Regions from separate parts of the Homo sapiens genome. Here all the other regions are linked to region 2. Evidence: promoter capture Hi-C in 16 types of primary human blood cells and fetal thymus (Javierre and others, 2016). All regions are on one chromosome and are shown on one strand. Each heading gives the region's core, a stretch centred on a gene start or on the middle of the fragment in contact. The rest is flanking DNA. Distances are from core to core; before and after follow the strand shown. Region 1 overlaps LOC124905132 (a long non-coding RNA gene). Region 2 holds the start of SAMM50 (SAMM50 sorting and assembly machinery component). Region 3 has its middle 4.7 kb from the start of PRR5. Region 4 overlaps PRR5 (proline rich 5). Region 5 has its middle 5.8 kb from the start of LINC00229. Region 6 has its middle 8.1 kb from the start of TTLL12. Region 7 overlaps LINC00229 (long intergenic non-protein coding RNA 229).

Region 1 (3,554 bases), core at 100-2,599, 710 kb before region 2:
GCCGGGAGGACAAATCAGACGGTCAGACTCAGTCCCTGTCCCGGGGATCGGGGTCCAGCCGCGGGCGGAGCGGGGAGGGAGGGGAAGACGAATGGGCCTGGCACCAAAAACAGCCCAGGGCTGTGGTTCTCAAAGTGTGGCCTCCGTTAGTGCAGAGTCCCTGGCCCCACCCCGGACCTACAGAAGCAAAACTCGGGGTTGGGCCCCCTATTTTAACAAGCCTTCTGGGTGGTTCCAGAGTTCAGTAAAGTTTGAGAAGAACTGCCCTGGTGGAAACATCCAGCACCCCACATCCTGCACCCCACAACCCACATCCCACACCCCAGTGTCTCGAAAAGGGCTTCTTTTCACTCTTCACTTAAACAGCCTCACCCTGTTTAAGTACCTCTCCGTTGGTACGTGGCTGTGGTGGGGGCAGTGGGCGGGGAGCAGTGGTGTCTGTCCCAGGAATCCCCGAAAGGATTGACAGTCAGTGCCTGGTAGAAGCCGCAAGTCCTGTACCAGAGGCCAGGCTGTGGGCATTCGGGCGGTGATGGTTATGGTTATTGTGTTTTGGTGTAGTGATTGTTTTAATGTTTTAGAATGCAATTGTGCAAATATTTGTGTCCATATTCAGTTGTAAAGCTTTTTTTTTCCCCTTCCATCATTGTGCTTGTTTGACGCTAAGCCACTCATCCCCCAGAAACAGTGTTGACATGAGGCAGATCAGATGGCCGGCCTTCCTGGTGACCAGATTTCAGGACAGCAAGCATCCCGGCCAGACCCCAGGTACTCTAATGGGGTCCATAGGGCCCTGGGAGTGAGCAGCTCTGCCTGAACTGCAGGATGGGGCATCCTAGAGGGAGGAGAGGGCATCTGGACAGAGGGGCCTAAAGTGTCTGGGTGGCATCTAGACTGGGCAGACAGTGCCTGGATCGAGTACTGGGGTGGGGCTGGAAACGGCCCAAGAGGTGCCAGAAGGAGGTGGAGCTGTTCTGAGCCCCGTGCTGCCAAGAGGGATGTCCTGGCCTTGGAGGGACCTTTGAGGTCATCTAATCCAGCCTCTTGGTGTGTGACCACTAGGACCTCCCCCACTTCTAATTAAACTTTCCTTCTTTCTTTCTTTTTTTTTTTTCTTGAGACCGAGTCTCGCTCTGTTACCCAGGCTGGAGTGCAGTGGTGCCATCTTGGCTCATTGCAACCTCTGCCTCCTGATTTCGAGTGGTTCTCCTGCTTCAGCCTCCTGAGTAGCTGGGGCTACAGGTGCCTGCCACCATGCCCGACTAATTTTTGTATTTTTAGTAGAGACAGGGTTTCACTATGTTGGCCAGGCTGGTCTCAAACTCCTGACCTCAGGTGATCCACCCGCCTGGGCCTCCCAAAATCCTGGGATTACAGGTGTGAGGCAGCACGCCCAGCCTAAACTTTCTTATTTTGAGATAATTGTAGATTCACATGCAGCTATAAGAAACAGTAGAGATGTCTTGGACCCAGTTTTCTCCACTGGTAAAATCTTGCAAAATTATACTACAATATCACAACCAGGATATTGACATAGATGCCATCAAGGTACAGAACATTCCATCAGCAAAGGACCCCCCCGTGGACTTTTTATGTGCTTATCTCCCTCCCTCCTCCCTCCTGGCAAGCACTTATCTGTTCTCCATTTCTGTAATTTTATCATTTCAAGCATGTTATATAAATGCAGTCATACAGTATGTTACCTTTTGAGATTGCTTTTTTCACTCAGCATAAATCCCTGAAGATTCTTCCAGGTTGCTTTGTGTTTCAGTAGTTTGTTCCTTGCTATTGTGGAGTGGTCAGCATTCCATGGAATGGGTGCATCATAATTTGTTTAGCCATTCACTTGTCGAAGACTATCTGGGTTGATTGCCAGTTTGGGGCTATTACCAATAAAGCTGCTATAAACATTTGTGTACAGGTTTTTGTGTGAACATAAGTTTTCATTTGTCTGGGAAGAGTGCCCAGGAGTGTAATTGCTGGGTCGTATGGGAGTTGCATGTTTAGATTTTTAAGAAACTGCCAAAATGTTTTCCAGAGTGTACCACTTTGCCTTCCCAGCAGCAAAGCTTGAGTGATCCAGTTTCTCTGCATCCCTACCAGCATTTCGTCTTGTCCCTGTGTTTTATTTTTGCCATGCTGATAGGTGTGTAGTGAGATCTCATGGTTTTAATTTGCCTTCCTCTAACGACTATTGATGTTAAAGATTCAAAACGATCTTGAGAGCTTATTTACCATCTGTAAATCCTATGAGTGGTAGGTGTGTTCATGTCTTTTGCCTATTTTCTAATTGGATTTTTTTTTTAAAAAATGTTCATTAAATTTCTTTCTCTCTCTCTCTCTCTCTCTCTCTCTCTCTCTCTCCCTCTCTCTCTTTTTTTTTTTTTTTTTGATGGAGTTTCACTCTTGTTGCCCAACCTGGAGTGCAGTGGCACAATCTTGGCTCACTGCAACCTCTGCCTCCTGGGTTCAAGCGATTCTCCTGCCTCAGCCTCCCGAGCAGCTGGGATTACAGGCGCGCGCCACCACATCTGGCTAATTTTTTGTATTTTTAGTGGAGACAGGGTTTCACTATGTTAGCTAGGCTGGTCTTGAACTCCTGACCTCAGGTGATCCTCCCACCTCGGCCTCCCAAAATGTTGGGATTGCAGGCGTGAGCCACGGCGCCCGGCTGGTTATTTCTTTATGGTGTAGTTTATTCAGAAATTCATGAATTCCCTGAGAGAGAGGAGAGTTGTCTCTTTTCTTCCCCAAAGTATCTCTGGGTGTTTGGAAACAGTCTTTGGCACGTATTAGAAGGTGGCTAATAGGTATTTGTTGAAAGAATCAGTGAGTAAATGAATACATGACCCCATGGTGCGTGGTTCTGGCCACGTCATTTGTGGCGCCCCCTGCTCCCCAGATCCATTCACTGCCTACTTTGTGCTCCCTGAGGCTGACCTGGGTGGACGGCATCCCCCACCTGGTTACATTTGACCCATGGAGGCAGTTGCTGGAGATCAGCCGGAGAGAATGAGGCATTTCTCCTCTTGCCCTCTGCTGACCCTTGCAGTCCCTGCGGGTTGCATGCTGACCACAGCTCTTTCCCGGATGCTCTGCCAGGCTTTAGCTCCACTGGCTTCCGGGGGAAGCACCATTTCCTTCCCTCCCTTCTGCAGCCCCAGGGCTGGTAGCAGCTTCCCTCTTTTGCTGGCCTCTGGCTCTCCCTAACCTGCCCACGCCTCTGTGAACATGAACCACCTGGTCAGCTCTGCCTTCTGCTGGGACCCTGACTGTAACAGATAGATATCATTATTATTATTATTATTATTATTATTATTATTATTGAGATGGAGTCTCGCTCTGTCACCAGGCTGGAGTGCAATAGCGTGATCTCGGCTCACTGCAACGACTGCCTCCTGAGTTCAAGGGGTTCTCCTGCCTCAGCCTCCCGAGTAGCTGGGACTACAGGTGTGCACCACCACGCCCAACTAATTTTTGTATTTTTAGTAGAGACGGGTTTTACCATGTTGGCCAGGATGGTCTTGATCTGTTGAACTCGTGATCCGCCCGCC
Region 2 (3,452 bases), core at 235-2,734:
CACAGATACTATTTGCATCCCCATTGATTTTACAGATAGGATTTCTAAAATTAGAATCATAAGGCTTTTGCTTAAGAGTTGCTTTAGATGTTTTTCAGATCTCGAATTCCAGCAAAACTGATGCTGCCAACCAGTTTGAAGACTCCTCCCCGCAACAGAGGAACGGAATCAGCATGAGAAGTTTCCTCATCTCCCTGTCCCATAACTTCACCCTTCACTCTTCCACCAATCAAGGATCTCCACACTTCAGCAAAAACATGAGGTCCAAACTCCTGAAGGAGATGGATTTGAGGTTTCCTCTCTTTTCCCATCTCCTCGTTCAGCGGCCCTGCAACTGAAACTCTTTCTCTGCTGCAACCCACTGTCTGAGTGTATTGACTTATCGAGCACACTGAGCAACAGACCTATTACAGTTACACAAAGAGATGTCAGAAGAGAAACGGTGTTTGATCTGAATGAAAGACATATAAAGGGAAGTTAAGTCCAATTATCGATGTCAGGCTGCGACTTCTGTGCTAAATTTTTTTGGAAGTTAATGGGGAACTACTGAAAACGTCTATGCAGGTCAAGTGAAGCAATCAAAGTTGCAGTAGAAAAGTAGTGTTGGGGCTGAGACTCAGGAAATCTGAGGTTTTAGGCCATTTGGAACCAGTAACTATGTGACCTTGGAGAAGTAACTCATTATCTGGCCCTTATTTAAGATTAGGATAAACGAGAGGAGTTTGGCAACCAGTACAGTTAGTCAGGCGCCAGGCACCCAAGTATTCACATGCATTGTCTTTTAATTCTCTTTTAAGCCAGGCGAGGTAGGTACTATTACTACCTCCACTTTAAAACAGGAAGTAAGGCAGAGAGCGGTTCCGTCTTTTGCACGGTAGACAGGAGAAAAGAGGACCCCTAGATAGGTTTGAGTTAGAAGACTTCAAAGGATTCTTGTTGCTCTAGGAGCCTACAATGGCTCCAGCAGCGGCTGAGCGGGGAAAGGCTGGAAGTGACCAGTAAAGAGAGAAAACTTAAAATCATGCAAAGAAAGAGCACATTCACTGCGGTCTAAGACATCACAGAAAGTTGGCAAGTCCTTTGGGCCACGGACTCGCCGAGTGACCTTTAGCCAAGTCTCGTCCCTCCTATCAGGTTCCTGCTCGAAGGTCTGCAAGACTCGCTGGCCCGAGGCGACCTCTTTTCGGCCTCCTCCACCCAGCCCGGCACCCTTGGCACCCTCTCTCCCGGTGAACCCTGGGCGCAGCCACGAGAGCGTCTCCCCGCGGCGCCCGTCTGCCCTGCTGGCCCAGAGGCCTCGCAGCCCGCGGGTCGCTGGGCCTCTTACCCGGGCGTGCACAGTCCCCATGGTTCCCTCTCCAGCCGCTGCCTCGCAGAGCTGCCCGGGCGGGACAGAGCGTCTGCTGCTGAGGGCAGAAGGCGGGTCCGCGGTGGCGGAGCTGCAGGTCAAGGCAACTCCCACAAACCCCCGGACGCGGAACACTGGGGGCGGCCATGATTCCCCGCCTTCTCCGCGCCCCCTGGCTCGCGATGCCTTCGCTCATTGGTCCTTATGCGCCTGTGACCCGGATGTTCACACGGCCGCGGAGGACGTTCTGACTGCGCAAGCGAAGAGCGTTCACTGACATCCGCGAAGCTGCTGGCGCGTGGACTGTGTGGGGAGGGCGCGTGGGGTGAAGGTGGGTCTGCGAGAGGGTCCGCTGGGAGGCTGGCGTCTGGCGTTGGCGCCTGAAAGAGATCAGACCAGCTGTTGGGTGTCACTCAAGTCCTGCTGCTCTTAGCCCTCCTAGCACCCCCGACCCGAGGGTGCTGTGCTTGTGCCCACGCGCCGGTGAAGCCCCGAGACTCAGCGGGGAGACCCCGGGTCCGGCCACCCCCGAGCTGCAGTAGTCGGGTCTCACCGGCATCTGCTACACAAACCCGGATTGGTGCCCTGGCTCCTTTCGTTCAAGTCATTGGAACCCCCACTCAAAATCGTCAAAATGAAGACGATGGTCGTGTCTCCTTCTTGGGGGTTGGATTAAAAGGGCCTAATGTGAGAGACGGAAAGCAAAGCTCCCGGCACCGGGCCGGGCACACGGTGGGCGCTAGATAATGACCGCTATTCACTCAACTGCAGCCAGTAATTATGGGCGAGGGCCATCTAGGTGCTTGCATGAGAACCAGTCATATCGGTGAAGAAGACGGCCATGGGCTTAGGTTTTGGTGGCAAAACAGCTCCCCTGCCCCAAAAAAGAAAAGAGAATAGAAAAGAAAAAGGCATAATAAATATCAGCCACACATTGTGATAAGTATATTGAAAGAAACGAGACAGAATAAGAAAAGAGGAAGCTTCAGTATCCTGTCACGTTGCCACTCCCTTCTGATAACAGAAGCATCTTTTCTTCTGTCCCCTTACTCCCTCCCAGAAACCCTGACACCCTTTCCATTTAAATAGCAGCACCCTAGGCCTCCAACATCCCTGAGCTAAATATTCAAGTCCACATGTCCCTTCTTGCCTGGAAAGAGACAGAACCCAGCACCAGCCAGGCCCCTGCCCTTCCCTCACTCTCAGTTCCCTGAGCCTCAATTCCTTATCTGTAAAATGGAAATGATAGCCTAAGGCATAAGGTCTGAGGACCTCATGAGATCAAGCATGGGGCCTGGCACTCTGTAAACATCGAATCAACCAGATTTTCTTTGCCCAAACAGCCCTCTTTTCTTACACTTTCTTCCTCGTTATTCTTCTGAGTATGCCACTTGTAAAGGATAAGCCATGAGGTTGCCCTGCAGAGTGCAAGATGGTTGCAATATTTGAGAGCCTATTGTGTGTGAGGCCCTGGAGGATGGCAGAGGGAACAGGAGGAAAACAAAGTCACATGCTTTACCCTCAAACAAAGGGCTGTCTGCGATAGTTACAATGTATATATTAAAGGCTATCTGTGATAGTTACAATGTATATAATATATTAAAGGCTGTCTGTGGTAGTTAACAATGTGTATATTAAAGGCTGTGATAGTTACAATGGGTATACTATATTAAAGGCGGTGGTAGTTACAATGTATATAATATATTAAAGGCTGTGATAGTTACAATGTACATAATATATTAAAGGCTGTGATAGTTATAATGTATATATTAAAGGCTGTCTGTGATGGTTATAATGTATATAATATATTGAAGGCTGTCTGTGATGGTTATAATGTATATAATATACTGAAGGCTGTCTGTGATAGTTAAGATGTATATATTAAAGGCTGTCTGTGATGGTTACAATGTATATAATAAAGACTGAGAAGTCTCACAGTGCATATACTGGTTTCCTTCTCTTTAACCCAGTATTTCTTGAATTTATTGGGTCATAGAGATTTTTGGTTTTGGAGATTTTTCTGTGGCCTCTGGCAATGCTATTCAACAGTATTTCTTGTGCTCCTCTTTTGGGCACAAGAGAGGATTGCATCTCCCTGCTCCCA
Region 3 (3,440 bases), core at 865-3,364, 740 kb before region 2:
GGCTGGGAATGCTGTAGGCATCTGGGAGAAGCGGCCAGCCAGAAATTCCGGAGGTGGGGATGGCTGAGGAATTTTAAAGAGATCTTTAAAAAAGGCATCTCTAGTCAGCGTTAAGGAATTAGCTATAACCTCTCCCTGGCCCCAGCCACAGATGTGTAAAATCTGTCTACACCCAACAGCCCAGCGCCAGGAGGGCAGTGGAGGCTCAAGCAAAGGTGCTAGTGCTCTGGGTTTGGGCCGTGACAGGCAGAGAGGGCACAGCTGCGGGGCTGCCCCGGGGCCAGAAACCCCAGGCAGAGGCCACAAGGGGACAGAGCTGTCACAAACCCTCAGAGCAGGGGGCAACTGGGGGACAAAGGGCGGAGTCTAGCCCCTAAGTGTGCTCTGTGTGGCCTGCAGCGTCGGAGGAAAATAAACCAAACTGCGTGCGGCCAACATCTTACAACATTTTACAACGGAGAGATTGACACAGAAACCCGGATTCTGGCCGCCCTGAAGCATCAGGTGACAGTCTTGCTGGGCCTGAGCCCCACGTGACAGCTCCCACCCGGCTACTGCCCCTGCCAGCAGGCACAAGGCCTCCAGGTGCCCACCGGGCCCTCCTCTCACTTATGGGGCTTTCTGGGTCTGAGGAGGGGGCTGGGGGACCCAGCAATTGTATTGTGGCGGGGTACCCTGGGCAGGGCTCATTTGTGTCTGAGACCAGGGAAGGGAAATGTCCCTCTGTTAAGGAAATGAGAGACAAAGGGACTCAGTCACACATCCCCAAAGCCACCAGAGTGGCCCCCACTCCAGACTCATTCACACATCCCCAAAGCCACCAGAGCCACCTCTGCTCCAGACTCATTCACACAACCCCAAAGCCACCAGAGCCACCCCTGCTCCAGACTCATTCACACATCCCCAAAGCCACCAGAGTGGCCCCTGCTCCAGGAAGGTGCCAGGCCCGATGGCATCAACCACGTCCTCTCCTCCCCAGGACCCAAACTCATTCCAAACTCCCCCTGGCCAGTGGGGTGTCGGCAGCTGGTAGAGGATCCCCTTGGTCACCAAGGGGGACCCTGATATCCTCAGAACTACCCTTCTGAAGGGCCTGCAATCCCTAAGCCTGGCTCAGCCCCGGCTGGACACCCAGGGGACAGGAACAGACCAGTAAGTCAGGGCAGCTCATGAACCCGGGACTCTGAGTTCTAGTCCATCAGCACTGCAAGTGACATCATGATCTCTGGGACACAGGCCAGCCAAAGGGAGGAGACAGCATACCCCTGAAGGGGCCAGTTTGGGGCCCAGGGAGGGGTACTATAGGCATGATACAGGGGCGGCCACTAAACACACTGCCCCGACTCGTCCCCACAAGGCTGCCAAGTGGGAGACCAGTCCCATTTTACAGACAGACAAACAGAGGCCCAGGGAGGCCGAGGCGTATGTCCGAGGTCAGAGTCAGCAAGTGGGGGAGCTGAGGCTGGAGCCCTGCGGGCTGGGCGGGAGAGAGAGACAGCCTCCATCTCGCCCACTCTCCCCGGGGCACGGCCCTCAGGTGGTGACCTCAGTTGCCCACGCCCTGCCTGCTTTCCTAGGCACTGCCTGCTCTGGAGGGGCACGTCCGCCCCCTGGTGGCGAAGCCTGGTGTTCCCTCAAAGCCGACCCAAAAGTGCCTTCTGCCCCCTGAGGAGCAGCCTGGTCAGTCCCGGACACCCTGGAAGAGGCCTGGCAACGTGCTGGGCACGGAAAGCCATGGGGAGTGCCTGGCTCTGTCCCCACAGTCTCTGCCATCCGGGCCGTCCCATCCCTTCCCTGAGATGGGCGAGAAGGGTGACACCACTGCCCTGTGAGGGCACAGAAAAAATCCACACACAGTCACAGGGGCACGCCAAGGGCTTGGTGACCGCCGCCAGGGTGGTCGCACGGCAGAAGGAGGTTCCTGAGTCAGGGCCACCACGCTGGGGGAGCCCAGGGTACTCGCGGTGACTCCGGCACCAAGCACCAGGCCACCGGACCTGGTGGCCTTGGAGCCAGGATCAACTGTTATTATTCCCATTTCACGACTGGGGAAACTGAGGCTGTGTGGGGAACACAGCAAGGAACAAGAAAGACATGGTCCCTGCTACCAGAAGGTGAGCCCATCGTCCCTTCCTAGCTCTGCCATCTGATATGTTCATGTCCTGGCCGGGTGTGGTGGCTCACGCCTGTGATCCCAGTACTTTAGGAGGCTGAGGCCAGTGGATCACCTGAGGTCAGGAGTTGGAGACTACCCTGGCTAACATGGTGAAACCCTGTCTCTACTAAAAATACAAAAATTAGCCGGATATGGTGGTGCACACCTGTAGTCCCAGCTACTAGGGAGGCTGAGGCAGGAGAATCGCTCGAACCCTGGAAGCGGAGTTTACAGTGAGCCAAGATCGTGCCACTGCACTCTAGCCTGGGCGACAGAGCAGGACTGCATCTCAAATAAATAAATAAATAAATAAATAAATAAATACGTAAGTTCATGTCTTCCTTGGTCCCACAGCAGCCTTGAGGTTTGAAGGTGGACCGCTTCCTTTAAGTCTTCTCTTGACCAGCTGAGCTACCAGGACTCCATCTGAGCCCTTCTCCACCCTGGTGGTCTGGTTCTGTGCACCCAAGACACGTGCCCTCCTTTTGTTCTGGATTTCAGTTCTAGGGGCCGGGGAGGGGGCTCTGGCCAGCAGGTCCCTGGTCTTAATACACCAGACGTCACACATGCACCTGCATAAGATTCTCTCTCCAAGCCACCTTCCCACCTGTCAGCCAGGTCTTGAACACCAATCGGTTTCCAAAGTCTCTTCTGGGGCAGGTGTTTTATAACCTGATTCTAGTCTCTCAATAGGTGCCTCTGTGGTATAAGGAGGTGACTGTCCAAGCTCGAGGATGGCATTGCAGAGACAGGTTTTGGAATCTCCCAAACTGGGTCTGCCCTCAGCTCTGCCACCTCCTTTGTGTCAAAGTTGTCAGAATTGGCTGGACGCGGTGGCTCATGCCTGTTATGCCAGCACTTTGGGAGGCTGAGGCGGGTGGATCACCTGAGGTCAGGAATTCCAGACCAGCCTGGCCAACATGGTGAAACCCCATCTCTACTAAAAATACAAAAATTAGCCAAGTGTGGTGGTGTGTGCCTGTAATCCCAGCTACTCAGGAGGCTGAGGCAGGAAAATCACTTAAACCTGGGAGGTGGAGGTTTCAGTGACTGTGCCATTGCACTCCAGCCTGGGTGACAGAGAGGGACTCTGTATCAAAAAAAAAAAAAAAAAAAAAAAAAGTTGTCAGAATCAAAATGGAATCACTTGTGTTTAAAAAAACCCTGACAGGCTGGGCGCACTTTGGGAGACCGAGATGGGTGGATCACTTGAGGTCAGGGGTTCGAGACCAGCCTAGTCAACATGGTGAAACCCTGTCTCTACTAAAAATACAAAAAAATTAGC
Region 4 (3,540 bases), core at 329-2,828, 780 kb before region 2:
GTCACTGGGAAGCCTATCGTAACCCACCCTGGGTTTTCCTAAGTGCCACCTCCACCCCAGACGCTGTCACAGTGCAGGTGAGGCTCACATGTCCCGGCAGGCCCACGGACCCCAAGGCGGGGCTGAAATGCAGATTTAGGGTCAGCAGATGGGGCCAGGGCCTGAGATTGTGCATTTGAGAGGTAAGGGGTAGAGCGTTCACGAGAATCCTGCACAAAACTTACAACAAGCACACAAAAGACAACAACGATAAAGCAGTTTCTAGAACCCCAGCCCTGGAGATGCAGAGGAATCCACCCCACTGGACACCCCGGTGATGCCGATGGTAGACCAACCACTAACTAATTAACCACCGATTTCACTCGTTTAACAAACCTTAGGGTGTGGAAGACAGAACAGCAAATGTTAAGAAGCCGTGTCTGCTCATTTCTGTTGTCAACATAATTTCATCGAGCCCTGACTGTGACAAGGCGCAGCTCTCCAGGAGGATGCCTTGAAGACCAAACAGGATGGAGCACACGGTCTCCCACGCCTCTTCCCTGAGTCACTCTATTCCTTAAAAGATAAATAAGGGCCGGGTGCAGTGGCTCATGCTTGTAATTCCAGCACTTTGGGAGGCCGAAGTGGGCGGATCACCTGAGGTCAGGAGTTCAAGAATAACCTGGTCAACATGGTGAAACCCCGTCTCTACTAAAAATAGAAAAATTAGCCAGGCATGGTGATGCATGCCTATAGCCCCAGCTACTCGGGAGGCTGAGGCAGGAGTATCACTTGAACCTAGGAGGCAGAGGTTGCAGTGAGATGAGATTGCGCCACTGCACTCCAGCCTGGGTGACAGAGCGAGACTCTGTTGGGATTACAGGTGTTTACCAATTTATAAGATGTCTGAATGCAGATCACCTCTGACATCTTTGGGAACAAGGCTAGGACACACACACACACCCTCTTGGTGGGCTGCTGCTTTCTGGGAGTGGGAGTGCAGCCTCCTCACCTCCTTGGGGCCCCCACTGAGTCCTGTGAGCTGCTGCAGGGCCCAGGCCCAGCACCCACCCTCCTGGACTGCAGCCCCCCAATCTGTGGTTGGGGATGCTGCTGGCTGCTGCCCAGGGGCCTCCCCTCCTGCCCCAGGGCAGGAGGACTGAGAGCTTAGGGACTGCCTTGCCAAGGGTCCAAGTGCCAGCCAGCAGGGGCCACCAGTCCCTGGGCCACCCCAGGCCCGGCAGCATCCAGGGGCCAGGGATGCTCGACCCCCCACGATGGAACCCCCACCACTCAGGGGACAGAACACAGGGTCTAGCACCCTGGTGTGGACAGAGCCCAGACAGCAACTCCCTGCCACGGCTTCTGGTCTTTGGTCCTCCTGCCTTGAGGTGACCGCTGGGAACCCTCCTGCCCATGTTGCTAATGGTCACCCACTACTCCCCGCCTCAGGCCACCTCGGGCTCCATGATGGAGCTGGGAGCCAAAGAGGTTGGTCCACGGATCTCGGCCTCATCAGCCTGGCTTAGTGGTTCTCAGACCAGGTTCTGGCTTTCTGTTCAACGACCACCTGTCCCCCAGGCCTGGGTCCCGAGGCTGCTCTTGCTCCCCTACTTGCCCAGCTGAGCCCTGCCTGGGGCACATTACCCATTCCGAGTAGCTTCAGAGAGCTCCACAGGGTTGGTATGCACCCGTATCACAGATGACAAAACTGCGGCTCAGCAGAGTCAGAAAGCCAGAGCTCCCCCTGCCCCCACCCCTACACCCTCCTATCCTGAGCTGAAGCAGGGGCGCCAGGTCTGCTTCTCCCACCAGAGAGGGAAACTCCTCCATCCAGAAGGCTCTGCTGGGAGACAGCCTGGGCCAGCTCCGGCCGTGACTCAGGGGTCAGGTGACGTCCTCCTGCTCACGCCCGGCTCACACCCACCCTCTCCCTCCAATCACACCTGGTTCCCCTGCCCTGGGCCTGTCCTTCATTTGCTCAGCACTCCTTTCCCACCTTGAGAAAACGCCATGAGAGGCGAGCGCGTGGAAGGCTGCGGGGGTGGCAGATCAGCAGGTGAACGGGGTGTGGAAAGGTGCCCGCCGTTAGAGACCCCTCCACCCCTCCCCATGGAGGCCACGCTGACCCGATGCTTTAAAACGGCGGGGGTGGCTAGGGAAGGCTGCCCCAGGCTCAGCTCCTGCCCCGATAGTAGGGGTGCCCGTGGTGCTGGGCTGGCCTTTGGCTCTCAGTAACACTCGGGCCCCACTGACGGGGGAACAAAGAGCCCTGCCTGCTACGGCTGATGCGGTATCCTGCCCACCTGAGGGCCCGGGGAAAGCCTGTCTGGGGATAGTGAGGCTGCAGGGGAGGTCAGAGCAGGTGTTAGTTTGTGCTTCCCAGGCCGGATGGCCTTCAGCAGGTCACCCCCACCCCCTAGGCCACCTGGACGCTTCTGTAGCACGGGAGGAGCTGGCAGATCCCGCCCCCACCCCTCCTTCCCTCCTTCAAAGGCTTCAGTGAGTCCATCCCTGCTAAGGCCAGGGGCAAAGTCAGGGCCAGACTCCTGTGCGGCAGGGCCAGCCCCACTCCCTAGCATCCCAGCCCTTCCTTCCACAACCTCCCGGTCCTCCCATCAGGGACAGGGACGGTGGAGCAGTAGGGAGGCCTGGACAACAGGCACAGGTCTGCCCCCTCCACACAGACCCTGGAAACCTGCGCTCCCTAGAAGGGAGCGAAGGCCTGAGGGTGAGCACCCTGAAGGGGCGCCCCCAGGGCAGGCACTGCAGACATGAGCCAGGTTGACAGGTTTTATTCCACCCCCTTCCATCCCCATGGCCACCCCAGGCAGGAGGAGACAGGTGTGCTGGAGTCTGGTCACTTTGGGGCCCGGCGTGGGCAGAGCCCACTGGGTTTACATTCTCTGTGGGCAGGTGTGGACACCAGAGGGCTGGGGCAGGAGGAGCGTGGGAGCGAGCGGCCGACCCCCGTCTCTGGCCCGGCCCCTGGGTAAACGCCGACTCAGATGCCTGAAACAGACCTGGGCCGAGCAAGGAAGGCTGATGGTATTTCCAACCAAGACAGAAATACAAAGTGACCAAGGCCAGTGACGAGGCCGATAGGGCTGGCGGGACGGGACGCAGTAAAAAAGTCTCACTCACACACACGCCACATGGACACCCCCGCACACAGGGACGTGTCAGTAAAAACTCAAGGCCAGCTGTGAGGCCTCACACGACACTCTGCCGGCCCCCAGAGCCCTCCAAGTCGGACATGCCAGAGCCCCGGCCCCGGCCAAAGTCAATGAAAATCCCTTCAGAATCCGAGTCCACGGACTCCAGGATCTGGTCCACCAGGTTCTCCGGGCTGGAGCGGGGCAGGGAGCTGCGGGTGGGATCCAAGCCCTGCTCAGGGGGCTGGGTCGTGGGGTACAGTCTGCTGGGGCAGGGCCCTGAGTGGGGCGCCGGGGAGGACCTGAAGGTCCCGGTGGGGCCCTGGCCGGGCGGGTCGGAGAAGCCCTGAGGCTCGGGGCAGGACGTCATCTCCGACACAGAGTGCCTGCGGATGCTGGTACCGCC
Region 5 (3,826 bases), core at 424-2,923, 680 kb before region 2:
TGCCAGCTAAGGAGTCTGGAGGGCCTTTGATAAAACCTGAGGTCAAGTCATATATCACAAAATTCACCCTCTTAGAGCATACAGTGTAGTTTTTAGTATATTCACAAGATTGTGCAACCACCAATCTAATTCCAGAACCTTTACATCTCCCTGAAAGAAACTCTGTTCCCGTTAGTAGATACTTCCCCTTCCCCCATACCCCCAGCACTTGGCAATCACCAATCTTTCTGTTTCTGTAGGTTTCCCTATTCTGGACATTTCATACACAAGGAAACCTAGAATCTGTGGCCTTTCATGTCAGGCTTCTTTCACTGAGCACCATGTTTTGAAGGTTGACCCACGATGTGTCACTTGTTAGGACTTCAGTCCTTTTTATGGTTGGATGTGCATAGCACGTTATGTTTATCCATTTTCTGTTGATGGAAATTTGGATTGTTTCCATATTTTGCTGTTGTGAATAGTGCTGCTGTAAACATTCAAGTGTACATTTTTGTGTGGACATGTGTTTCTGTTTTCTTGAGTAGATATCTGGGGTGAGATTGCTGTAACTCTATGTTTAATTTTCTGAGGAACTTCCCGGCTTTTCTTCAAACCTCCTGCGCTATTTTACCTTCCCGTCAGCAATGTATGAGGGCTCTAATTTCACTACATCCTTGCCTCAATTTGTTATTGTCATTTCTTTTTTTTTGGTATAGCCATCATTGTGATTGTGAAGTGCTGTGACATTGTGGGTTTGATTTGCATTTTTTCTGATGACTAGTGATATCAGGCCCCTTTTCACGTGCCTGTTGCCATGAGTATGTCTTGTCTAGAGAAGTGTATCTTCAAATCCTTTGGTCACTTTTTTTTGAAACAGAGTCTCACTCTATAACCCAGGCTGAAGTGCAGTGGTGTGATCTCAGTTCACTGCAACCTCCGCCTCCTGGGTTCAAGTGATTCTCCTGCCTCAGCCTCCCAAGTAGCTGGGATTACAGGCACCCGCCACCATGTCCCGCTAATTTTTGTATTTTTAGTAGAGACAGGGTTTTGCCATGTTGGCCAGGCTGGTCTCGAACTCCTGACCTCAAGTGATCACCCCACCTTGGCCTCCCAAAGTGCTGAAATTATAGGTGTAAGCCACTGTGCCCAGCCTCCTTTGGTCACTTTTTAATGTGGATATTTGTTTTTTTAAATTATTGAGTTGTAGTAGTTCTTTATATAGTCTAAATACTATATCTGTATTAGATATGTGGTTTACAAATAGTTCCTTCTATTCTTTGAGCTGTTTTGTCACTTTCTTGTGAATGTCCTTCAAAGCACAAGTTTTTCATTTTGATGAAATCCATTTTCTATGTTTTTTCTTTCATTGCTTGTGCTTTTGGTGTCACAACGAAGAAACTCTTGCCTAATTCAGTCACGAAGATTGGCACCTGACCTCTTCTGATTTTTGTAGTGGCAACTCTTCCATGGCTGTCTTTGATCCATTTTGAGTTAGTTTTTGTATATGGAGTGAGGTAGGGGTCCAGCTTCACTCTTTTGCATGTGGATACCCAGTTGTCTTAGCTCCATTTGTTGAAAGATGATTCTTCTTTGATTGTCTTGGCACCCTCGTTGAATATCGATTGGCCATATATGTATGTATGGGTTTATTTCTGAACTCTTACTCTGTTCTATTGACCTATATGTCTTTAATTATGCCAGTACCACACCATCTTGATAGCTGTAGCTTTGCTGTAAGTTTTGAAGTTGGGAAGTATGAGTCCTCCTATTTTTTTTTTCAAGATTGTTTGGTTTTTCTGGGCCCGCTGCATTTCCATGTGAATTTTGGGATCAATATACACAACATAGGCAGCTAGGATTCCGATACGGTGAGGAGAGTCTTTGTCTACAGGGCAATGGGGAGCCATGGGGGTTTTTGAGCAGGTGAGTGACAGGATCAGACTTGAGTTTTGCTAAGATGGATCTTCCCAGCACAGGGAATGGATTTGAGGGAGTGGGTTAGGCCCAGGGGGATGCAAGGAGAGGTGGTGACAGCCAGGGGCTGGCCATGAGGTGACAGGCATGGGCTGGCCACAGGACAAGGAGCCGAGAGAGGCAGAGGAACCAGGGTCTCAGACTGGTGGGCTGTAGGGAGGGATGAGGTGGTTGTGTCTCTGGAAGGCCCAGCCCCACTCCTGGCTCCCCACCCTTCTTGGTCAGGGAGAGGGGCCAGGGAGCAGGCTGGACTGGGCGTTGGGACATTTGGATCCAACTCTGCCTCTGTCACTGCTCCACTGTGATCTCCCATGGGCGACTTCCCAGCCCCCACCCATCCCTCCTCCCCAGGGCCTGGATTCAAACAGACTCATCCAGGAGAGCTAGAAGGGCCCTATGAATCCACGCAGGCCACCATCTATTTTATAGATGGGAAAACTGAGGCCTCATGTGATTGACTCCCTGCTCTCCTCTGAGCTCTTTGGAGCCTCAGGTTTTGCCCTTGCCAGTCCCTGGGTCCATCCTCTAGGGCCTAAGAACAAACCGCCAGCCCATAGCTCATCCAACCGAGAGCTACAACTGCACGTGATACTATGACCAGGCCATTCCAGAAAATCCTTGCTCAGGAAGACACAGTTGCAAAGGACTTTCTTGTTTCAGGAACTTCCTGGAATCCATTTATCTGAACAATAGCTCACCTCACTGGGTGAGCTGCTTGCTCGTGAAATGACTGCTCTCTCACCAGGACATGCTTGAAACCCACGCCTCACTGCGTCCCCAGTGCCATTCTGCTGTGTCACTAGGTTCACCCAGTCCCAGTCCATCTCCACAAACTGCTTAGACCCAGGACCCTGACTTACAAAGGCCTTTCGTGACCTCCCCTTTCCAAGACACTCCTGGGACTCTGTCAGGGATACCCCCTGCAGACACAGACACTGAGCTTGGCTTGGCTGGGTGACTGCTGAGTCTCCCAGACAGGATGGGGCCCCTACACACTCCTGGCCCCCTACTTCTTGCGTATCCTTAATGGTACCTCTCAATCTGCCTTAACAAAATTAATAGACTTTATTTTTAGAGCAGTTCTAGGTTCAGAGTTGAACTGATTGAAAGGTGCAGAGATTTTCCACAGCCGCATGGCCCCACCATGCACACCCTCCCCTCTATCACTGTCCACCAGCCACATCAGGGCCACCCAGAGTCCACGGTTTCCATGAGGGGCCCCTCTTGGCATTGGACATTGTGCAAGGACAGGGACCCCCATGGTAGCATCATCCAGGGCAGTGTTACTGCCCTGAGATCCCCATGCCCTACCTGCTTATCCCTGTCTCCCTCTCATTCCTGGCAACCTCCGCTCCTTTCACTGTTTCCGTAGTTTGCCCTGCCCCACAGGGTCGTGTAGTTGGGATCACACTGTCTGTAGCCTTTTCAGACTTGCTTCTTCCACTCGTGAGATGCATTTTGAGTGCTTCCATGCCTTTTTTTTTTTTTTTTGAGATGGAGTTTCACTCTTGTTGCCCAGGCTGGAGTGCAATGGTGCGATCTCGGCTCACTGCAACCTCTGCCTCCCAGGTTCAAGTGATTCTCCTGCCTCAGGCTCCCAAGTAGCTGGGATTACAGGTGCCCACCACCACACCTGGCTATTTTGTTGTATTTTTAGTAGAGACAGGGTTTCCCGATTTTGGTCAGGCTGGTCTCGAACTCCTGGCCTCAGGTGATCCACCTGCCTCAGCCTTCCAAGTGCTGGGATTACAGGTGTGAGCCACTGTGCCTGGCCACTTCCATGGCTTTTCATGGCTTCATAGCCCCTTTCTTTCCCTTCCTTTCTTTCTTTCTTTCTTTCTTTCTTTCTTTCTTTCTTTCTTTCTTTCTTTCT
Region 6 (3,446 bases), core at 151-2,650, 760 kb after region 2:
CCGCCTCCTGAGCTCACGCCATTCTCCTTCCTCAGCCTCCCGGGTAGCTGGGACTACAGGCGCCCGCCACCACGCCTGGCTAATTTTTTGTATTTTTAGTAGAGACGGAGTTTCTCCGTGTTAGCCAGGATGGTCTCGATCTCTGACCTCGTGATCCGCCCGCCTCAGCCTCCCAAAGTTCTGGGATTACAGGCGTGAGCCACCGTGTCCGGCCAAGAGTTGTTCTTTGACACTGGGGCTTTAATCTGGAAGTCATGGTCACAGTGAGCCTCAGGGAATCTATGACTCATTGAAATTCGGCACGCAATGCTGTGTGTGTGTGTGTGTGTGTGTGTGTGTGTGTGTGTACACATGCATGTACAGATACACATTTCTATTTCTCTGGGAATATGGCCCACAGCTTTCCTCAGGTTCTAAAAGAAATCTAGGGTCAGGTGCAGTGGCTCACACCTATAATCCCAGCACTTTGGGAAGCCAAAGCAGGAGGATTGCATGTGTCCAGGAGTTCGAGACCAGCCTGGGCAACATGGCAAGACTCCCCCATCTCTACAAAAAATGAAAAATAAAAAATAAAAACTGACAAAAGATATATACATGCATTTCGCAGAAGAAGAAACAGGACAGCCAATTACCATTTGAAAAGGTGCTCAATCTCATTAATAATAATGGAAATACAGGCTGCTCTGCCTAGGAGTAGCCATGCTTTTGTTTCTTTACTTCTCTAATAAACTTGCTTTCACACACACACAAATGGAAATATAAATTGAGACAACAAAAATATGCCATGTTAGCACTAGGTTGGCAAAAAAACAATAATAAGTGTGATAAAATCAGAATCAGAGAGGATATGGATCAACTTACTGTATACAAATAGGGAATCTCTTTTTTACATATATGTTCCAGGAAATATACAAAACTATTCATAGCCTCATGTTTATTAGAGCAAAAAGCTTAAGATAACCTAAGTCTCTTCGTGGAAAACTGCATCATAGTCACGTAATTAAATATTATGTAGCTATGACAATTAATTAACATCCTGCAACAAAAGGGATATATCTTAAAAGCAACATGTGCAGGAACAAGACCAGGATGCGTGCCTGCACCGCTCTGCTGGAGGTCTAGCCAGGACAATTAGGCAGGAAAAAAATATAAACAGCATCCAGATTGGAACGGAAACAAAATTATCCATTTCACATGTCCTGATCTTCTATATGGAAGATACTTAAGGAATCCACAAATAATTACTAGAGCTGATGAAATTCACAAGGTTACAGAACATAAGATCAATATATAAAAATCAGTTGTACGGTGGGCACAGTGGCTCACCCCTGTAATCCCAGCACTTTGGGAGGCCAAGGTGGGTGGAGAGCCTGAGCTCAGGAGTTCAAGACCAACCAGTGCAACATGGAGAAGCCTTGTCTCTACCAAAAATACAAAAAATTAGCCAGGCATGGTGGCACGCACCTGTGGTCGTAGCTACTCGGTAGGCCGAGGTGAGAGGATCGCTTGAGCCTAGGAGGCAGAGGTTGCAGTGAGCCGAGATCCAGCCACTGCACTCCACCCTGGGTGACAAAGTAAGACCCCATCTCAAAAAAAGAGAAAAGAAATTAAAGAAGATCTGTACTCTTGGATTGGAAGACAGTATTGTCAAGATGACAGTACTCCCCAAATTGGTCTAGAGATTCAGTGCAATCCCCATCAACATCCAGGCTGGCTTCGTGCACAAACTGACATGCGAATCCTAAAATTCATATAGAAATGCAAGAGACCCATAGTAGCCAAACAGTCTTGAAAAAGAACAAAATTGGAGGATTCACGCTTCTCATTTTTAAAACTTACTACAAGCTTACATTAATCAAGATTTTGTGGTACTAGCAGAAGGACAGACCTACAGATCAATGGAATAGAATTCAGAGTCCAGAAATGAACCCTTAAATTTATCATCCATCAGTTGGTTTTCAACGAGAGTGCCAAAACCATTTAATGGGGAAAAAATAGTCTCTTCAACAAATGGTACTAGGACAACTGGATATCTACATGCAAAAGAAAGGAAGTTGGACCCCTACCTCCTATACAAAAAATCAACTCAAAGTGATCAACGACTGAAATGTAACAGCTAAAACTATAAAACTCTTAGAAACTAAGACAGATAAATAAGTCTTTGGAATCTTGAATTAGGCAATGGCTTCTTTTTTTTTTAACTTCAATTTTTGTATTTCCGTTAAGTTTTGGGGGAACAGGTGGTGTTTGGTTACATGAATAAGTTCTTTAGTGGTGATTTCTGAAACCTTGGTGCACCCATCACCTGAGCAGTACACCCTCTACCCAGGCAATGCCTTCTTAAATGTAACACACAAATAATAAGGCACCAAAGAAAAAATATATAAATTGGACTTCACCAAAATTGAAAACTTGTACTTCAAAGGGCTCTGTGAAGAAAGTGAAAAGATAACAGAATAGGAAAAAAACCTTTACAAATCACATATCTGATAAGACTCCAGTATCCAGGATATGTAAAGAACTCTTACAACTCAACAATAAGACAAATAACCTAATTTAAAAATGAACAGGCGGCCAGGCATGGTGGCTCACACCTGTAATCCCAGCACTTTGGGAGGCCGAGGCGGGCGGATCACGAGGTCAGGAGATCAAGACCATCTTGGCTAACACAGTGAAACCCTGTCTCTACTAAAAATACAAAAAACTAGCCGGGTGTGGAGGCAGGCGCCTGTAGTCCCAGCTACTCGGGAGGCTGAGGCAGGAGAATGGTGTGAATCCAGGAGGTGGAGGTTGCAGTGAGCCGAGATCGGGCCACTGCACTCCAGCCTGGGTAACAGAGCAAGACTCCGTCTCAAAAAAAAAAAAAAAGAAAAGAAAAAAAAAAAAGAACAGGCTGGGAGCAGTGGCTGTAATCCCAGCATTTTGGGAGGCCAAGGAAGGCGAATCACCTGAGGTCAGGAGTTTGAGACCAGCCTGACCAACATGATGAAACCGCATGTCTACTAAAAATACAAAAAATTAACCAGGCGTGGTGGCATGCACCTGTAATCCCAGCTACATAGGAAGCTGAGGCAGGAGAATCACTTGAACCCAGGAGGAGGAGGTTGCAGTGAGCCAATATCACACCATTGCACTCCAACCTGGGTGACAAGAGGGAAACTACGTCTCAAAAAAACAACAACAAAAAACAAAAGAACAAAGAAGGCCAGGCACAGAGGCTCATGCCTGTAATCCCAGCATTTTGGGAGGCCAAGATAAGAGGATCACTTGAGGCCAGGAGTTCAAGACCAGCCTGGGCAACAAAGCAAGACCCTGTCTCTATATCAACAACAAAAAAATGGACAAAGAGGCTGGGCACAGTGGCTCACACCTGTAATCCAGCACTCTGGCAAGCCAAGGCCAGCATATCGCTTGAGGTCAGGAATTCAAGACCGGCCTGGCCAAAA
Region 7 (3,397 bases), core at 414-2,913, 660 kb before region 2:
TTCACAGGTGCTTTCAAACCTTTTTATAAAGTAGTTATTTGGTATCTTCAAAAAATTTTAAGTAGACTTTTTTAAAGAACATTTGTAGACTTACAAGTGAAATTAAGATGATAATACAGAGAGTTCCCACACACCCTGCCCCTAGTTCTCCTATTTTTAGCATCTTGCATCAGCATGGTACATTTGATGCGAGTATTAAACCAATGTTGCTAACATTCTCATTAACAAAAGCCCATATTTTATTCAGTTTTGTTCGTTTTTAACCTAACATCCTTTTTCTGATCCAAGATCCCACTCAGGATCCCACATGACATTTAGTTGTCATGTCCCATTAGGTTCCTCTGGGTGGTGACAGCCTTTTTTTTTTTTAATTTGCCATCTTTAAAGAAAATGTTAATTAAAAACATAGAGATAATTGTAGATGCACACACAGTTGTAAGAAGTAATAGGCCGGGTGCGGTGGCTCACACCTTTAATCCCAGCACTTTGGGAGGCTGGGGCAGGAGGATCATGAGATCAAGAGATTGAGATTATCCTGGCCAACACGGTGAAACCCTGTCTCTACTGAAAATACAAAAATTAGCTGGGCAAGGTGGCACACGGCCATAGTCCCAACTACTTGGGAGGCTGAGGCAGGAGAATCGCTTGAACCCAGGAGGTGGAGGTTGCAGTGAGCTGAGATCGCACCACTGCACTCCAGTGCAGGGTGAGACTCTGTCTCAAAAAAAAAAAAAAAAGTAATAGCAAGGAGGCCAGGTGCAGTGGCTCACACCTATAATCTCAGCAGTTTGGGAGGCTGAGGTGGGCAGATCACTTAAGGCCAGGAATTCAAGACCAGCCTGACCAACATGGTGAAACCCCGTCTCTACTAAAAATTAGCTGGTCATGGTGGTGCACCCCTGTAATCCCAGCTACTCAGGAGGCTTAGGCAGGAGAATCACTGGAACCCAGTGTGGAAAGTAAAAAGATTCCTCTTCAAAGTTTCCCTTCTTGTTAAAGAATAAATCATAAGTGTTAGAAATAATAGTTTCTTTTAAAGGCTAACTTCCTTCAAGCCTCCTTGCTTTGTGCTAATAACTGTTTGTTAAGCCCTATCCTAGGTAGCTTTTAGATATAAGGGAATGAGTGCATTCTATGTCCTTGTACTTTAACCAAGGTATTTGTTCTAGACATGCTCAGGCATGTCCCAGCTCACAGCTTATGCACCTTCTTTATTTGGAAATGTTATTACTTCTCTAAGTCTTTTCATAAGCAACTTCCTCTTTTCCTTTGTTCTCCCTTGACTTTACCTATTTAGGAAAGTTTTAAGTTATTAACCAGTCAGGTTTAGCTTAGATTGTGAGGTCCAGCTCCAGCCAATGGAGACAGGACACAGTAGCAGGGACAAACCGCATAAGGGATAAAAATTGCTTCCCTCCTTTGTTCAGGTGTGCTCTCGCCATTGCTGCATCTGTGAGGAGCACCCTTTCTGCAGAAAGCAAAGTTGCCTTGCTGAGAAAATTCTTTGTCTGAGCTCTAGTTGTTCTTTTTGGCACCAAGGAACAAGCATTTCTAAGGGAATAAGCATTTTACTTATAACCACCCAGGAGGCAGAGGTTGCAGTGAGCAGAGATGGCACCACTGCACTCCAGCCTGGGCAACAGAGCAAGACTCTGTCTCAAAAAAAAAAAAAAAGAAGAACAGGAAGGTGTCCTTTACACATTTTGCCCAGTTTCCTTCGATGGCAATATTTTGCAAAACTATAGTACAATAATAGTACAACCAGGAAATGGACACTGGGGCAATCCACCAATCCTATTCAGATTTCTCCAGTTTGCCTGTACTAGTGTGTATGTGTGTGTGCGTGGGTGTGTGTGTGTGTGAATTCTGTACAGCTTTATCATTTGTGCAGGTTCCTGTCTCCACCACCCCTGTCATGGTGTGGAAGAGCTCCATCACCATGAGAATCCTTGGAGTTGGAGTTACCTTTTTATGGCCACACCCACCCCTCTTCCACATCCCTAATCCCTGGCACCACCTATCTGTCCTCCAATTCTAAAGTTTTTTCATTACAAAAATGTATACACGGACTTGTGCTGCATCATACTTTTTGGGATTGCTTTTATTCACTCAGCCTAATTCCCTGGATTCCTCCAGCTTGCTGAGTGGATTAATAGTTCCTTTTTACTGCAGAGTACGGTCCCACGGCCTGGATGTTCCTGTTTCTTTCTTTCTTTCTTTTTTTGAGATGGAATTTCCCTCTTGTTGCCCAGGCTGGATTGCAATGGCATGATCTTGGCTCACTGCAACCTCTGCCTCCTGGGTTCAAGTGATTCTCCTGCCTCAGCCTCCCAAGTAGCTGGGATTACAGGCATGCGCCACCACGCCCAGCTAATTTTGTGTTTTTAGTAGAGACAGGGTTTATCCATGTTGGCCAGGCTGGTCTCGAACTCCTGACCTCAGGTGATCTGCCTGCCTTGGCCTCCCCAAGTGCTGGGATTACAGCCGTGAGCCACCGCGCCTGGCCTGGATGTTCCTGTTTAACCATTGGTGGATGAAGGACATCAGGGCTGTTTCCAGTTTTGGCTATGACAAGTCAAGCTGCTATGAACACTTGTGTACAGGTTTTTGTGCAGATGTTTTATTTCTTTAAGACGAGTGCCCAGGAATGCAATTGCTGGGTCACCCGGTAATTATATGTTTAGTTTTTTTTTTTTTTTTTTTGAGACGGAGTTTTGCTCTTGTTGCCCAGCTGGAGTGCAGTGGCACGATCTCAGCTCACTGCAACCTCTGCCTCTGGGGTTCAAACGATTCTCCTGCCTCAGCCTCCCGAGTAGCTGGGATTACAGGCACGCACCACCATGCCTGGCTAATTTTTTTGTATTTTCAGTAGACAGGGTTTCATCATGTTGGCCAGGCTGGTCTCAAACTCCCAAAGTGCTGGGATTACAGATGTGAGCCACCGCGCTCGGCCTATGTTTAGATTTTTTAAGAAATAGCCAAGCTGTTTTTCCAGTGTGTCTGTCCCAAGACATCCATAGCAGCAGCATATCATGATCCGGGTTCTTCACATCCTTGTGAGTGTCTGGTGTCATTATTTTTCATTTTAGCCATTCTGTTAGGTGTGTGGGAGAGGTGTGATATTGAGTTAGTTACTTCACTTCTCTGAGCTCTATGTCCTCATCATGGGCCGTCTGATACGGCTGTCAGAAATGCTGGTGAAGTAAACACGTGTAAAGAACTTGGAACGATGCCTGCTCTGTTAAGAGGGCTCCTAACACCTTAATAATTATGATCACATTGAACTATACGAAATTGCCAATGTGGGATCACTTTTGGCCCATAAAAACCCTGAGACTTGATACAGCTCCTCCTCATATTGTTATTAAGGATCAAATGCCTGCATGATTCAGAGTGC

The links. Contacts are between HindIII fragments. The CHiCAGO score rates a contact against its expected background, and 5 or more counts as called.
Region 1: a contact is called between a fragment that was not itself captured here and the fragment with the promoter of SAMM50 in region 2, in 11 of 17 cell types (naive CD4 T cells, non-activated CD4 T cells, naive CD8 T cells and 8 more). The highest score is 13.0, in naive CD4 T cells.
Region 3: a fragment that was not itself captured here is called in contact with the fragment with the promoter of SAMM50 in region 2 in 4 of 17 cell types (naive CD8 T cells, activated CD4 T cells, total CD8 T cells and 1 more); the score reaches 6.3 in naive CD8 T cells.
Region 4: a contact is called between a fragment that was not itself captured here and the fragment with the promoter of SAMM50 in region 2, in 1 of 17 cell types (naive CD8 T cells). The highest score is 5.3, in naive CD8 T cells.
Region 5: a fragment that was not itself captured here is called in contact with the fragment with the promoter of SAMM50 in region 2 in 4 of 17 cell types (naive CD4 T cells, total CD8 T cells, naive CD8 T cells and 1 more); the score reaches 8.2 in naive CD4 T cells.
Region 6: a fragment that was not itself captured here is called in contact with the fragment with the promoter of SAMM50 in region 2 in 1 of 17 cell types (endothelial precursors); the score reaches 5.2 in endothelial precursors.
Region 7: a fragment that was not itself captured here is called in contact with the fragment with the promoter of SAMM50 in region 2 in 9 of 17 cell types (neutrophils, naive CD8 T cells, activated CD4 T cells and 6 more); the score reaches 7.4 in neutrophils.

The regions. Positions count from the first base shown.
Region 1 is chr22:44,664,798-44,668,351 of GRCh38, reverse strand. LOC124905132 (a long non-coding RNA gene) reads left to right here. Exons shown (of 3, transcript XR_007068127.1): 1 at 1-21; 2 at 683-768; 3 at 3,353-3,554. Among named protein-coding and RNA genes, the nearest start is that of PRR5, 36 kb to the left of the region's middle. The HindIII fragment of the contact is 1,445 bases long and covers 627-2,071 here.
Region 2 is chr22:43,953,474-43,956,925 of GRCh38, reverse strand. SAMM50 (SAMM50 sorting and assembly machinery component) reads right to left here and starts at 1,484. Exons shown (of 15, transcript NM_015380.5): 1 at 1,328-1,484. The coding sequence starts at 1,348. RefSeq lists enhancers at 740-949, 755-1,506, 1,630-1,709, 1,790-1,839, 1,507-2,259 and a silencer at 1,392-1,666. The HindIII fragment of the contact is 6,277 bases long and covers 1-2,333 here.
Region 3 is chr22:44,695,761-44,699,200 of GRCh38, reverse strand. It overlaps a transcript of PRR5 not described here. Among named protein-coding and RNA genes, the nearest start is that of PRR5, 4.7 kb to the left of the region's middle. The HindIII fragment of the contact is 4,492 bases long and covers 1-3,440 here.
Region 4 is chr22:44,736,900-44,740,439 of GRCh38, reverse strand. It overlaps PRR5 (proline rich 5), which reads right to left. Exons shown (of 8, transcript NM_181333.4): 8 at 2,759-3,540. The coding sequence ends at 3,193. The region is part of intron 4 of PRR5-ARHGAP8 (PRR5-ARHGAP8 readthrough); the gene reads right to left. Among named protein-coding and RNA genes, the nearest start is that of ARHGAP8, 14 kb to the left of the region's middle. The HindIII fragment of the contact is 6,756 bases long and covers 1-3,540 here.
Region 5 is chr22:44,629,325-44,633,150 of GRCh38, reverse strand. No RefSeq gene overlaps it. Among named protein-coding and RNA genes, the nearest start is that of LINC00229, 5.8 kb to the right of the region's middle. The HindIII fragment of the contact is 9,177 bases long and covers 1-3,826 here.
Region 6 is chr22:43,193,467-43,196,912 of GRCh38, reverse strand. No RefSeq gene overlaps it. Among named protein-coding and RNA genes, the nearest start is that of TTLL12, 8.1 kb to the right of the region's middle. The HindIII fragment of the contact is 895 bases long and covers 953-1,847 here.
Region 7 is chr22:44,610,167-44,613,563 of GRCh38, reverse strand. All of the region lies in intron 3 of LINC00229 (long intergenic non-protein coding RNA 229), which reads left to right. Among named protein-coding and RNA genes, the nearest start is that of LINC00229, 14 kb to the left of the region's middle. The HindIII fragment of the contact is 5,035 bases long and covers 1-3,397 here.